Linked DNA regions of Homo sapiens: all the other regions are linked to region 2. The links are contacts of gene promoters, found by promoter capture Hi-C in human tissues and cell types (Jung and others, 2019). All regions are on one chromosome and are shown on one strand. The core of a region is centred on a gene start or on the middle of the fragment in contact, and the rest is flanking DNA. Distances in the headings are between cores, read along the strand shown.

The links. Contacts are between HindIII fragments. The study calls those that stand out against the background at their distance.
Region 1: a fragment that was not itself captured here is called in contact with the fragment with the promoter of GRHL2 in region 2 in 1 of the 25 tissues and cell types used here (aorta).
Region 3: a fragment that was not itself captured here is called in contact with the fragment with the promoter of GRHL2 in region 2 in 1 of the 25 tissues and cell types used here (mesenchymal stem cells).

Annotation. Positions count from the first base shown.
Region 1 is chr8:101,304,338-101,308,656 of GRCh38, forward strand. It overlaps the pseudogene RNU7-67P. Among named protein-coding and RNA genes, the nearest start is that of LINC02844, 44 kb to the left of the region's middle. The HindIII fragment of the contact is 3,712 bases long and covers 275-3,986 here.
Region 2 is chr8:101,490,308-101,494,153 of GRCh38, forward strand. GRHL2 (grainyhead like transcription factor 2) reads left to right here and starts at 2,132. Exons shown (of 16, transcript NM_024915.4): 1 at 2,132-2,482. The coding sequence starts at 2,463. GRHL2-DT (GRHL2 divergent transcript) reads right to left here and starts at 2,398. Exons shown (of 2, transcript NR_186782.1): 1 at 2,143-2,398. RefSeq lists an enhancer at 2,150-2,678. The HindIII fragment of the contact is 12,677 bases long and covers 1-3,846 here.
Region 3 is chr8:101,710,131-101,714,429 of GRCh38, forward strand. All of the region lies in intron 2 of NCALD (neurocalcin delta), which reads right to left. Among named protein-coding and RNA genes, the nearest start is that of NCALD, 79 kb to the right of the region's middle. The HindIII fragment of the contact is 5,335 bases long and covers 166-4,299 here.

The DNA.
Region 1 (4,319 bases), core at 881-3,380, 190 kb before region 2:
CAGTCTGCTTCCCAGACACACTGTGCCCCTTCATGTGTCAATGACTATGCACATGGCATTTCTGGGGCTTTTTACATCTCCTCTCCATTCTTTAAACCCAGCACAGGGGTCACCTGCCCCGAGAAGACTCCCCTGCTGTCCACACTGGCTCCCATCATGCCCCTGCCCACCCCAAGGAGAGCAAGCACCTGCCTTCTGTGACGGCTGGACCTGCTCATATTTCTGTCTCTGTGTCCACTGCCCTGATGGGTAGTTACTTGTTCTCAGGCTTTTCTCCCTCGCTGTGCTGCAGGCCCCTGAAGACCAAGACCTTGTCTTACTCATGTGTGTAACACCAGGCATTGTAACACCAGGCATGACGTGAACTAGAGCAGGGGCCGAGTGAGGGTTTGCTCGGTTGAACTAAGTGGGGCTGAGAAGATTCAAGAGCCTGCTTGGAAGTGCCAGATGTGTAACAGATGCTGTCTGGTGCTTTGTGGGAACACACTACCTCAATAAGTAGCATTCCATAGAGCTCAAGGTCTAGTTAGGGAGTCCATAGGCTGTAGGTGACAAAGGCCAAAGGGAGTCAAAGAACAAAATAATGGAGAGCTGGAAAATATCAAGTCCAAGTGCTGAGGATGGGATGGGGTGAATTTGAGTCTAGAAATAAGGGAAGCAAAAGACCCAGATTTGAGGAAGGAAGAGGGAGGGTGAGGCAGGGTGGGCAGGGAAAGGCAGGGGGCTCAGGCATTCCAGGCTGAGGGCAGGCCTTGGAGAGCCTTGCATATCTCAGAGATGCACCTTCATGCCCTAGGTGGGGCAATAGTCTGCGAGAAGGGCCTGATGAAGGAGGAGCTTCGAGGTAAGAACTAAGTGGGGAAAACCATAGATTCTTGGCCAAGGGACCTTCATAATACATGACTTATTCTGCTAGTTCTTTTAACATGAGCCTTTAATACTTTTTTGTGGAATGAATAAGCAAGGGAGGAAGCCAGATGTGGAAGAAGGAAGATGAGCTGTGGACTTAGTCACCTGGGTTTGAATCTTGGAGTCACTACCTGCTGGTTCTGTGATGCAAGCATGTTCCCAATCTTCTACAAGCCTCAGTGTCCTCATCTGTGAACTGGGGATGACATATGCTTCATTTTGGGGTGGGGTCAGCTTTATTTAGGTATAATTTACATACAGTAAATATTCACCAATTTTAAGTGTCCCCAATTAAGTGATTTTTTGAAATTATGTTGTTGTGTAACTACCATCACAGTAAAGATATTAAATTTTTACATCACCCTCAAAAAATGTCCTTATGTCCCTTGCAGTCAATCCCCTTCTCCCACTCCTGGCCCCTAGCAACCAAAGGTCTGCTTTCCATTACCATCATCTTGCAATTCCTAGACTTTCATACATATGGAACCATGCTGTTATAATCTTTATGCCAACCTTTTTTTTAACTTCGCATGATGCTTTTGAAATTCACCTAAGTTGTTGCTATTATTGAGTTCCTTTCTTTTTCGCTGAGTAGTTTTCTATTTTATGAATATCATACAATATATGCTTTTCTGTTCATCCATTGGTGGACATTTAGGTTGGTGTCAGTTTTTACCTACTATAAATAAAGCTACTATGAGTATTGGTGCATAAGTCTTTGGGCAGATTAATATTTTCATTTCTTTTGGATAAATACCTGGGAGTCAAAGTGCGGGGCATATGGCAGCCTTTGTTTAAAAGACTACCGATCTGTTTTTTAAAATGGCTACACCGTTTTGCATTCTTACCAGCACAGCCTGAGAGTGCCAGTTCTCCAGATCCTCGCTGACATTTGATATTATGTGTCTTCTAAAATTGTAGCTATTCTAGTGACTGTACAGTGGTAATTTATTGTAGTTTTAATTTTCAAGATTTTCTGATAACATTTTTTAATGTAGGTAGTGGCAATTCGTATCTTCTTTGGTGTAGTGTCTGTTCAAATAGTTTGCCAATTTTTTACCTAAATTGATTAGTTTATTTTCTTAATATTTTCGAGTGGTAAAGGTTTATTATATATGATTGATCCTTGAACAATGGGTTAGGGGCACCAACACCCCCCCACTCCTGCAGTTGAAATTCCACATATAACTTTTGACACCCCCAAAACTTAACTAATAGCCTACTGTTAACTGGAAGCCTTACCGCTAACATAAACAATTGATTTACACATATTTTGTATGTTATACGTATTATATACTGTATTCTTACAATAAAGCTAGCTAGAGAAAAGAAAGTGCTATTAGGAAAATCATAAAGAAGACAAAATACATTTACACTACTGTACCGTATTTATCGATACCGTAAGTTTCTATTGTCTGTTTATAAGATGAATCCTCTGTCTAAAATGGCAACTGCAGCTACAAGCCTCAGTCTATGGTACATCAAGAAACTCAATCTTTTCCTGTACTGACATGACTTTTCTGCTTCTTGGGAGCACTTCCAACATCACTGGTGGCACTTCCTACTTGTCCCATGGTGTTATTCAAGGATTACAGTATTACAATAAACACAATGAAAAATACCTGAGAACCAACAAAGATCACTTTTTATTTGGATGTGCAGCTTACTGGAGAGATGAACTGCCCACATGGAGATGAATAGCTTACATGACATGTTAAGTGGATATTCTTAAAACGAAAGCTTCATGACAATAACAACAGGAGGTGCCTATGAAGTTATTACGGTACCACAGGATGTACAGGTTAATTTTATGCAGTTCTGATGTAATACTGCATCTTTATGTTTGTTTCCATTTCTTTTGACTGCGAATGGTGCCATGTACAGTCCGTGTTTGTGTGTGTGTAAGTTTCGTTAACTTTTAACTTTATATGAAAGATTTGTGTATATTTTATGGTAGTCAATGATAAAATAGACTAGTGTCTACATACATTTTATGCATTCATGACATACCTTTTTCTTAATTTTGATATTTCTAGGCTGCACAGTTCATCTTTGAATGTTTTCAAATTATTGCAAATCTACAAAAAGTTTTTCAATATATGTATTGAAAAATATCCATGTAGTGTTACAGCTCTTTTAGAATTTGTCTAGCAGGTTTCCCAGTATTCACCGGAAAGCTCCAAAAAAAAATGAAAGAAAGAAAGGAAGATAGGAAGGAAGGAAGGAAAGAGAGAGAGAAAGAAAGAAGAAAAGAAGAAAAGAAAGAAAGAAAGAGAGAAAGAAAGAAAGAAAGAGAATGAAAGAAAGAAAGAAAGAAAGAGAAAAAGAAAGAAAGAAAAGAGAAAAAGATCCTCCAGCCTCAGCCTCCCAAGTAGCTAGGCTTACAGGTATGAGCTGCCATATCTGGCAAACTATTTTTAAAAAGTTTTAAAAAATACTTTTTAAAATTAAATTTCTCTCTGCATTTCATTTTGCATAATTTCTATTGTCTTGTCTTTTTTCTATTCTTTTGTCTCCTTTTTGTAGAGATGGGGTCTTGTTATGTTACCCAGGCTGGTCTCAAACTCCTGGCCTCAAGTGATCCTCCTTCCTTGGCCTCCCAAGGTTTTGGGATTACAGGCATGAGCCACCTTGCTTGGCCTCTTTCCATTTTTAAACAGTGTCTTTTGAAGAACTAAAGTTATTAATTTTAATGAAGTCCAGTTTATTAATTTTTTCTTTTGTACTTCAGGCTTCTTATGTTCGATTTGAGAAATCTTTCCCAAGCCTAAGTCACAGAGATTTTCTTGTGTTCTCTTCTGAAAGTTGTATAACGTTATGTCTTACCCTTAGCTCTATGGTTCATTCAGAGTTAGTCTTTCTGTATGGTCTGATATAAGGGTCAAGATTTATTTTCTTACATATGGATCACTTGGATAACTAACTGTTCCAGGACTATGTGTTGAAAAGATTATTCTTTCCTTAGTTAATTACCTTGGCCTTTTAATTACTTTGGCCTTTTATTTATTTATTTTGTCAAAAGCCAATTCACCACATATGAATGAGACTATCTCTGGACTCTCTGCTCTATTGACCTATATGATTGTCTTTACACAAATACCACTCTCTCCATTGTTATATAGTTCTATTGCATGTACTGAAATCAAATAATATAACTCATTCCACAGTAACCTTCTTTTTCAAAATTGCTTTACATGTTTTAGGTCCTTTGCATTTTCACATACATTCTAGACCTAGTTTGTCAATTTCTACAAAGAGCCTGGGGTTTTGATTGGAACTATATTGAACCTATGTATCAATTTGGGGAGAATGGACAGATAACAATATTGAGTTTTCTGACCCATGAATAGGACATATCTCTCTTTCTTTAATTTCCCTCAGCAATGCTTTTTGGTTTTTAATGTATGTCT
Region 2 (3,846 bases), core at 882-3,381:
GGGCACGGTGGCTCACACCTGTAATCCCAGCACTTTGGGAGGCTGAGGCAGGTGGATCACCTGAGGTTGGGAGTTCTAGACCAGCCTGACCAACATGGAGAAACCCCGTCTCTACTAAAAATACAAAATTAGCTGGACTTGGTGGTGCATGCCTGTAATCCCAGCTACTTGGGAGGCTGAGGCAGGAGAATCACTTGAACCCGGGAGGCAGAGGTTGTAGTGAGCTGAGATCACACCGTTGCACACTAGCCTGGGCAACAGAGAGAGACTCTGTCAAAAAAAAAAAAAAAAAAAAAAAAAGAGTGTCCCAGGATGACACTTGAGAAGCGGATCCATAGAGCAACTCATCTCCACTGAAACAGTAGAACAATGAATTTCTGGAGGAATTGTTTTCAGGGCAAAATTGGAATTGATTGTTTGATCATTTGGAAAATAAACATGATAGTCATTTGATAGATCAGTTGTAGAAAAATATCAGGATGGGGCATAACAAACTAAGTAAATAGATACAAGGTTTTATAAGGAAGAAAACAAGAATAGTACACTATTGGCTGTGTTGTCATTGCTATTGGCATAGTCACTTACTTAGCTCCTAAACTGTGAAAGTGCTGTGTTGGAAGGAGAAGTTGCTTGGCATGAAAGAGCTAAATCCTAATCTGAAGCAACAGGTAGTCAGAGCACAACATCTATTGGCAAATCAAGAGATGGCAGTACAAATTATTTAGAAATAGGGAGGTAAATGACAGAAGAGACAGATAAAAGCAGAATATGGCTGCCTCTAAAAAGGAGAGGAACATGATAGGTATTGCATTATCTTAAAATATTATATTAAAATAGTACCTGCATTGTCTTAAAATATATTATTTCTTTAAAGTGTGTGTTTATATTGTTTTTTAAAAATACAATTTTGAAATTTATTGTTGAAAATGGACACATGGAACAAACCAAACCTTGTTTTATCATGTAATTTTCAGAAAATATGTGATCCATAAAGATTAAAAGAAAGTTGTATTAAGTCTGGCAGCTTTAGTATTAACTTGAAATAAAATATGGCAAGCTTTCCACGTCCTCCTTTATTTCCACAATCCATATGTACGAGCTAGATTCCAGTCAGAACTTCCACAAATACTTCACTCTTTGGTAGCAGCGGTTATAAATTACGCCTTTGCTAATTTGCGTTGTTCCCAACCAGGAGAAACATTACCACAAAAAAAGTCAGTTTCATCCTGCAGTGTTCCCGCAGCAACCATATTAAGCTGGAAGAATAAAGCTCCTTTGTAGTAGTAGCGTCTATTGAATTACAATGTAAATGTTGATGCCTGCCTGGAAACGTCAAATGACAACAGGTTTACAGAACGAATTCAGTGGTTGTTTGCAGCTCTGGAATCCCAGGCTGCAGAGTTGAGATCGAAGAGGTGCGTCTGGCCATCTTAGCGTTCATTCAACCAAATCTCCTCACTCCATCAAAACCACGCCACTCCCCACCTGCCCAGCTCGTAAAAGGATGCTCACCTGTTTGAAAATCTGTAATATATCTGATGTCTTTTACACAGCAGGACACGAAAAAGTGTTTGTTGTGGATAAGAGTGTTAAAAATTCAATTACGCAACAGACCAAACTTTGTGCTTCTTTCCCCCTCTCAGCACAAAGTAACTTTAGTCCCGTCCTCTTCTGCCACTGTCAAACAGCCCTGTTACTGTGGGCATTAAATGCCTTGTGGCGTACTGCGCATTTGATTCTGGTTGACTTGGGATACCTGAGCTCGGCTCTCATTAGCTCTTCCGCTCGACCCACAATCCCTAGTGTTTGCAGGTGTTGCATTCCCCCAACCCCTTTCTTCTCTTCAACCAGTAGCCTCCACCTTCCCATCCCTGCTTTGGAGAAGGAGGAAAACGCAGCTTGAGATCTACTCGAAGAACTGACCCTCAGCTCTCACAGGCTGCCGCCGAGCTGCAAGCATGCCGCCGCTCCACTCGGGTAAACTTCGGAGTGAGTTACCTGCACTCGGAGAAGGGCCTTACCTGAGCGCGCCTCTGCCAATGGCAGCTCACCTGAGGGAGCTCCCCAGCCAATCATCGCGCAGCTCGTCCCTCGGGCTTGTACCCTTTAGTGAAAGAATTCAGCTCCTTGCGAGAAAGTTACCTGTGGCCGCCCAAGTCCGCCACTTTCTGCTCTGTGTCTGCCCATTGCCACGATCCAGGAGGACTCCGCGCCGCCCGGCCGCCTCCGAGCTCGGGCCCCATGTGAGGGGCCCCCCCTTATCCCACCTTTCCGGCTAGGTGAGGGCGCGAGCGGGCGAGCGAGCGAGAGTGGTGAGGGGGGACGGAAAAGCAGAATTACCTGTAGCTCTTGTTCTGCCATCTCGGGCGCTCTCACACACCTTCACCTGCACAGACTTGAAAGTCCAGTTTCACCAGAGGCTGAGGCTCCAGGAAAAGCGGAGCAAGTTCATTGGATCAAACATGTCACAAGAGTCGGACAAGTAAGTGGATCACACGCGCCGGCTGCTGCTACTACTACCACTTTGGGCTGATGGCAACTGGTTTGTTATGTTTTTGTTTTTAAGTTGCTATTGTTGGTATTTTTCTTTCTTTTTTCTTTTTCTTTTTGGTGGATCCAGACTTTTCCGCATTATGTTTCTACCCTGATTAAGGGGAGAAACCCTACAACAATGTGAATATTTAATATCCCCTTTGGGCCTTGATAGTAAAAGTGGGTTTTCCTTTTCCTTCTTCCCTTAGGAATGGTCTCAGCTCCCGCTCCTGGATGAATACTTGGATATTGCCAGAGGTTTTGGTAGATGGGCGCGGGAGGCCTGCTCTTCCCTCTCTGTTTTAGCTGCTCCCACCGATCTGGCGTTTAGGGCCATTTGGAAGTTCAGCTGAGTTCCTTCGATTTGTCCAAAGGGCCTACTGGAAAAGTGGGGCTTGGCCGCTTTTGTGTGACCGCAACAAAGAGCTTTTATATGAGGCAGAAACGGCCATCTTCTCGCACCGGGCAGGAGGGTGGGCGTGAGTGCGCGCCCGCGTGTGGCCCCGATGGGAGGCGAGGCGCTGGGAGGCCGGGGGGCGCGGGGGCGGCCGGCGCCGTCCCCCACTCCCTCGACATCCCGCCTTCCTCCCCCCTCCCCCGCCTCCCTCCCCCGGGTCCGCCCCCGCATTGTTTGGCCACCTTCCTCAGGTGCCCGGGGGGAAAGGACGGTTCGCGAACTGGGGGAACTCATGTGAGGCCTCGAGTTAGGGCCTCGGCGGGGCGCGAAGGGGCGCCTGCCACTGAGCGATTCACCCGCGCCCCCGACGGCGTCTGCACGCCCCTCGAGCTCGCGGCCCTCCACGCAGTTGGCCGCCACCTCGGACGCGGCAGGCGGGACTGCGTGGGGCGCGCCGAGCCTTCTCGGGGTGCTCTCGCCGTCAAGGCCGAGGGCTCGGGGCGGCGGGAACGCTGGGCTCGCGTCCTTCCCGTCCCGGACAGGCACTCCAGACGCGTCGGGGAGCCACAGCCTGCGCGGCCGGAGCCGCCCGCGGGTCACTGGGCCCGGTCCGGCCGCGTCCTGACGGCCTCCCCCCTGGCCGGCCCCCGCCCTCGGAAGGCTTTGTGCGAGCCGGGGGAGGTGGGGCCTGGGCGGGCGCGGGAGGGAGCCGGAGGTGGGTCCCGCGGCCTTTCTCGGGATTCGGCGGGGACACTCCCTTCCCCCTCCTCTCGGGCGCGTCCGGGCCTGGGAACTGGCTGCGTCCTATTGGAAGTGCGCGGGGCCGCCCTTTTGCTTTCCCCGGTAACTTTGCCGTGGCGTTGCGGCCACCCCGAGGGGACCTTCCTGAAGGTGTCTCGCCGGAGAGGGCCGGTGCC
Region 3 (4,299 bases), core at 1,583-4,082, 220 kb after region 2:
GAAGCAGGGTGGGCTGTTGCTTCACCTGGGAAGTGCAAGGGGTTGGGGAACTCCCTCCCCTAGCCAAGGGAAGCCATGCTGTGAGGAATGGTGCACTCTGGCCCAGACAGTATGCTTTTTCATGGTCTTCACAACCCGCAGACTGGGAGATTCCTTCAGGTGCCTATGCCACCAGGGCCCTGGGTTTCAAGCACAAAACTGGAGGGCCATTTGGGCAGACAACACGCTAGCTGCAGATGTTTTTTTTTGTACTCCAGTGGTGCCTGGAACACCAGCGAGGCAGAGCCATTCACTCCCCTGGAAAGGGGGCTGAAGCCAGGGAGCCAAGTGGTCTTGCTCAGTGGGTCCCACCCCTAAGAATCCCTGCAAGCTAAGATCCACTAGCTTGAAATTCTTGCTGCCAACACAGCAGTCTGATGTTGACCTGGGATGCTCCAGCTTGGTGCAGGGAGGGGCGTCTGCCATTACTGAGGCCTGACTAGGTGGTTTTCCCCCTCACAGTGTAAACAAAGCCACTGGGAGGTTTGGACTGGGCAGAGCCCACCGCAGCACCACAAAGTTGCTGTTGCCAGATGCCTCTCTAGATTCTTCCTCTCTGGGCAGGGCATCTCTGAAAGAAAGGCAGCAGCCCCATTCAGGGGCTTATAGATAAAACTCTCATCTCCCTGGGACAGAGCACCTGGGGGAAGGAGCAGCTGTGGGTGCAGCTTCAGCAGACTTAAACATTCCTGCCTGACAGCTCTGAAGAGAGCAGCGATCTCCCAGCACAGTGCTCAAGCTCTGCTAAGGGACAGACTGCCTCCTCAAGTGGGTCCCTGACCCCCGAGGCTCCTGACTAGGAGATGCCTCCCAGCAGGGGTCGACAGACACCTTATACAGGAGAGCTTTGGCTGGCACCTGGCCAGGTGCCCCTCTGGGATAAAACTTCCAGAGGAAGGAGCAGGCAGCAATTTTTGCTATTCTGCAGCCTCTGCTGGTGATACCCAGGCAAACAGGATCTAGAGAGAACCCCCAGCAAACTCCAGCAGACCTGCAGAAGAGGGGCCTGCCTGCTAGAAGGAAAACCAACAAACAGAAAGCAATAGCATCAACATCACCAAAAAGGACAACCACACAAAAAACTCCAGCCGAAGGTCACCAACAGCAAAGATCAAAGGTAGGTAAATCCATGAAGATGAAGAAAAACCAGTGCAAAAAGCCTGAAAATTCCAAAAACCAGAATGCCTCTTATCCTTCAATGGATCACAACCCCTCGCGGGCAAGGGAATAAAACTGGACGGAGAATGAGTTTGACAAATTGACAGAAGTAGGCTTCAGAAGGTGGGTAATAACAAACTCTTCCGAGCTAAAGGAGCATGTTCTAACCCAATGCAAGGAAGCTAAGAACCTTGATAAAAAGTTAGAGGAGTTGCTAACTAGAATAACCAGTTTAGAGAAGAATATAAATGACCTGATGGAGCTGAAAAAGACAGCACGAGAACTTTGTGAAGCATACACAAGTATCAATACCCAAATCGATCAAGCAGAAGAAAGGGTATCAGAGATTAAGGGTCAACTTAATGAAATAAGGCATGAAGACAAGATTAGAGAAAAAAGAATGAAAAGGAACGAGCAAAGCCTCCAAGAAATACGGGACTATGTGAAAAGACCAAACTTAACGTTTGATTGGTGTACCTGAAAATGACAGAGAGAATGGAACCAAGTTGGTAACACACTTCAGAATATTATCCAGGAGAACGTCCCCAACCTAGCAAGACAGGCCAACATTCAAATTCAGGAAATACAGAGAACACCACAAAGATACTTCTCGAGAAGAGCAACCCCAAGGCACATAATCGTCAGATTCACCAAGGTTGAAATGAAGGAAAAAATATTAAGGGCAGCCAGAAAGAAAGGCTGGGTTACCCATAAAGGAAGCCCATCAGACTAACAGTGGCTCTCTCTGCAGAAACCTTACAAGCCAGTGAGGGTCAATATTCAACATTTTTAAAGAAAAGAATTTTCAGCCCAGAATTTCATATCCAGCCAAACTAAGCTTCATAAGTGAAGGAGAAATAAAATCCTTTACAGACAAGCAAATGCTAAGGGATTTTGTCACCACCAGCCATACAAGAGTTCCCAAAGGAAGCACTAAATATGGAAAGGAAAAACTGGTACCAACCACTGCAAAAACAAACCAAAATGCAAAGACCGTCAACACTATGAAGAAACTTCATCAACTAATGGGCAAAATAAACAGCTAGCATCATAATGACAGGATCAAATTCACATATAACAATAATAATCTTAAATTGTAAATAGGCTAAATGCCCCCAATTAAAAGGCACAGACTGGCAAATTGGATAAAGAGTCAAGACCCATCAGTGTGATGTATTCAGGAGACTCATCTCACATGCAAAGACACACATAGGCTCAAAATAAAGGGATGGAGGAAGATTTACCAAACAAATGGAAAGCAAAAAAAAAAAAAAAAAAAAAAAATAGCAGAGGTTGCAATCCTAATCTCTGATAAAACAGACTTTAAATCAACAAAGATCAAAAAAGACAAAGAAGGGCATTACATAATGGTAAAGGGATCAATGCAACAAGAAGAGCTAGCTATACTAAATATATATGCACCCAATACAGGAGCACCCAGATTCATAAACCAAGTTCTTAGAGACCTACAAAGAGACTTATACTCCCACACAATAATAGTGGGAGACTTTAACACTCCACTGCCAATATTAGACAGATCAACAAGACAGAAAATTAACCAGGATATTCAGGACTTGAACTCAGCTCTGGACCAAGCAGACCTAACAGACATCTACAGAACTCTACACCCCAAATCAACAGTGTATACATTCTTCTCAGCACCACATCACACTTATTCTAAAATTGAACACATAATTGAAAGTAAAACTCCTCAGCAAATAAAAAAGAATGGAAATCATAACAAACAGTCTCTCAGACCATAATGCAATCAACTTAGAACTCAGGATTAAGAAACTCACACAAAACTGCACAAGTACGTGGAAACTGAACAAGCTGCTCCTGAATGACTAGTGGGTAAATAATGAAATTAGGCAGAAATAAATAAGTCCTTTGAAACCAATGAAAACAAAGACACAATATATCAGAATCTCTGGGACACAGCTACAGCAGTGTTTAGAGGGAAATTTATAGCACTAAATGCCCACAGTAGAAAGCAGAAAATATCTAAAATTGACACCCTAACATCACAATTAAAAGAACTAGAGAAGGAAGAGCAAACAAATTCAAAAGCTAGCAGAAGACAAGAAATAACTAAGATCAGAGGAGAACTGAAGGAGATAGAGACACAAAAAAAAACCATAAAAAAATCAAGGAATCAAGGAACTGTTTTTTTTTGAAAAGATTAACAAAATAGATAGACCACTAGCCAGATTAATAAAGAAGAAAAGGGAGAAGAATCTAATTGACACAATAAAAAATGATAAGGGGGATATCCTCACTGATCCTACAGAAATACAAACTACCATCAGAGAATACTATAAACACCTCTACACAAATAAACTAAAAAATCAAGAAGAAATGGATAAATTCCTGGACACATACACCCTCCAAAGACTAAACCAGGAAGAAGTTGAATCCCTGAATAGACGAATAACACATTTTGAAATTGAGGCAATAATTGATAGCCTACCAACAAAAAAAAGCCCAGGACCGGATGGATTCACAGCCGAATTCTACCAGAGGTACAAAGAGGAGCTTGCACCATTCCTTCTGAAACTATTCCAAACAATAGAAAAAGAGAGACTCTGAAAAGGCCTTCAATAAAATTCAAAATCCCTTCATGCTAAAAACACTCAGTAAACTAGGTATTGATGGAACATACCTTAAAATAATAAGAGCTATTTATGACAAATCCACAGCCAATATCACACCGAATGGGCAAAAGCTGGAAGCATTCCCTTTGAAAATTGGCACAAGACAAGGATGCCCTCTCTCACCATTCCTGTTCAACATAGTATTGGAAGTTCTGGCCAGGGCAATCAGGAAAGAGAAAGAAATAAAGCGTATTCAAATAAGAAGAGAAGAAGTCAAATTTTCTCTGTTTGCAGATGACAGGATAATATATTTAGAAAACCCCATCATCTCAGCCCCAAAACTCCTTAAGCTGATAAGCAACTTCAGCAAAGTCTCAGGATACAAAATCAGTGTGCAAAAATCACAAGCTTTCCTATACACCAATAATACACAAACAGAGAGCCAAATCATGAGCAAACTCCCACTCACAATTGCTACAAAGAGAATAAAATACCTAGGAATACAACT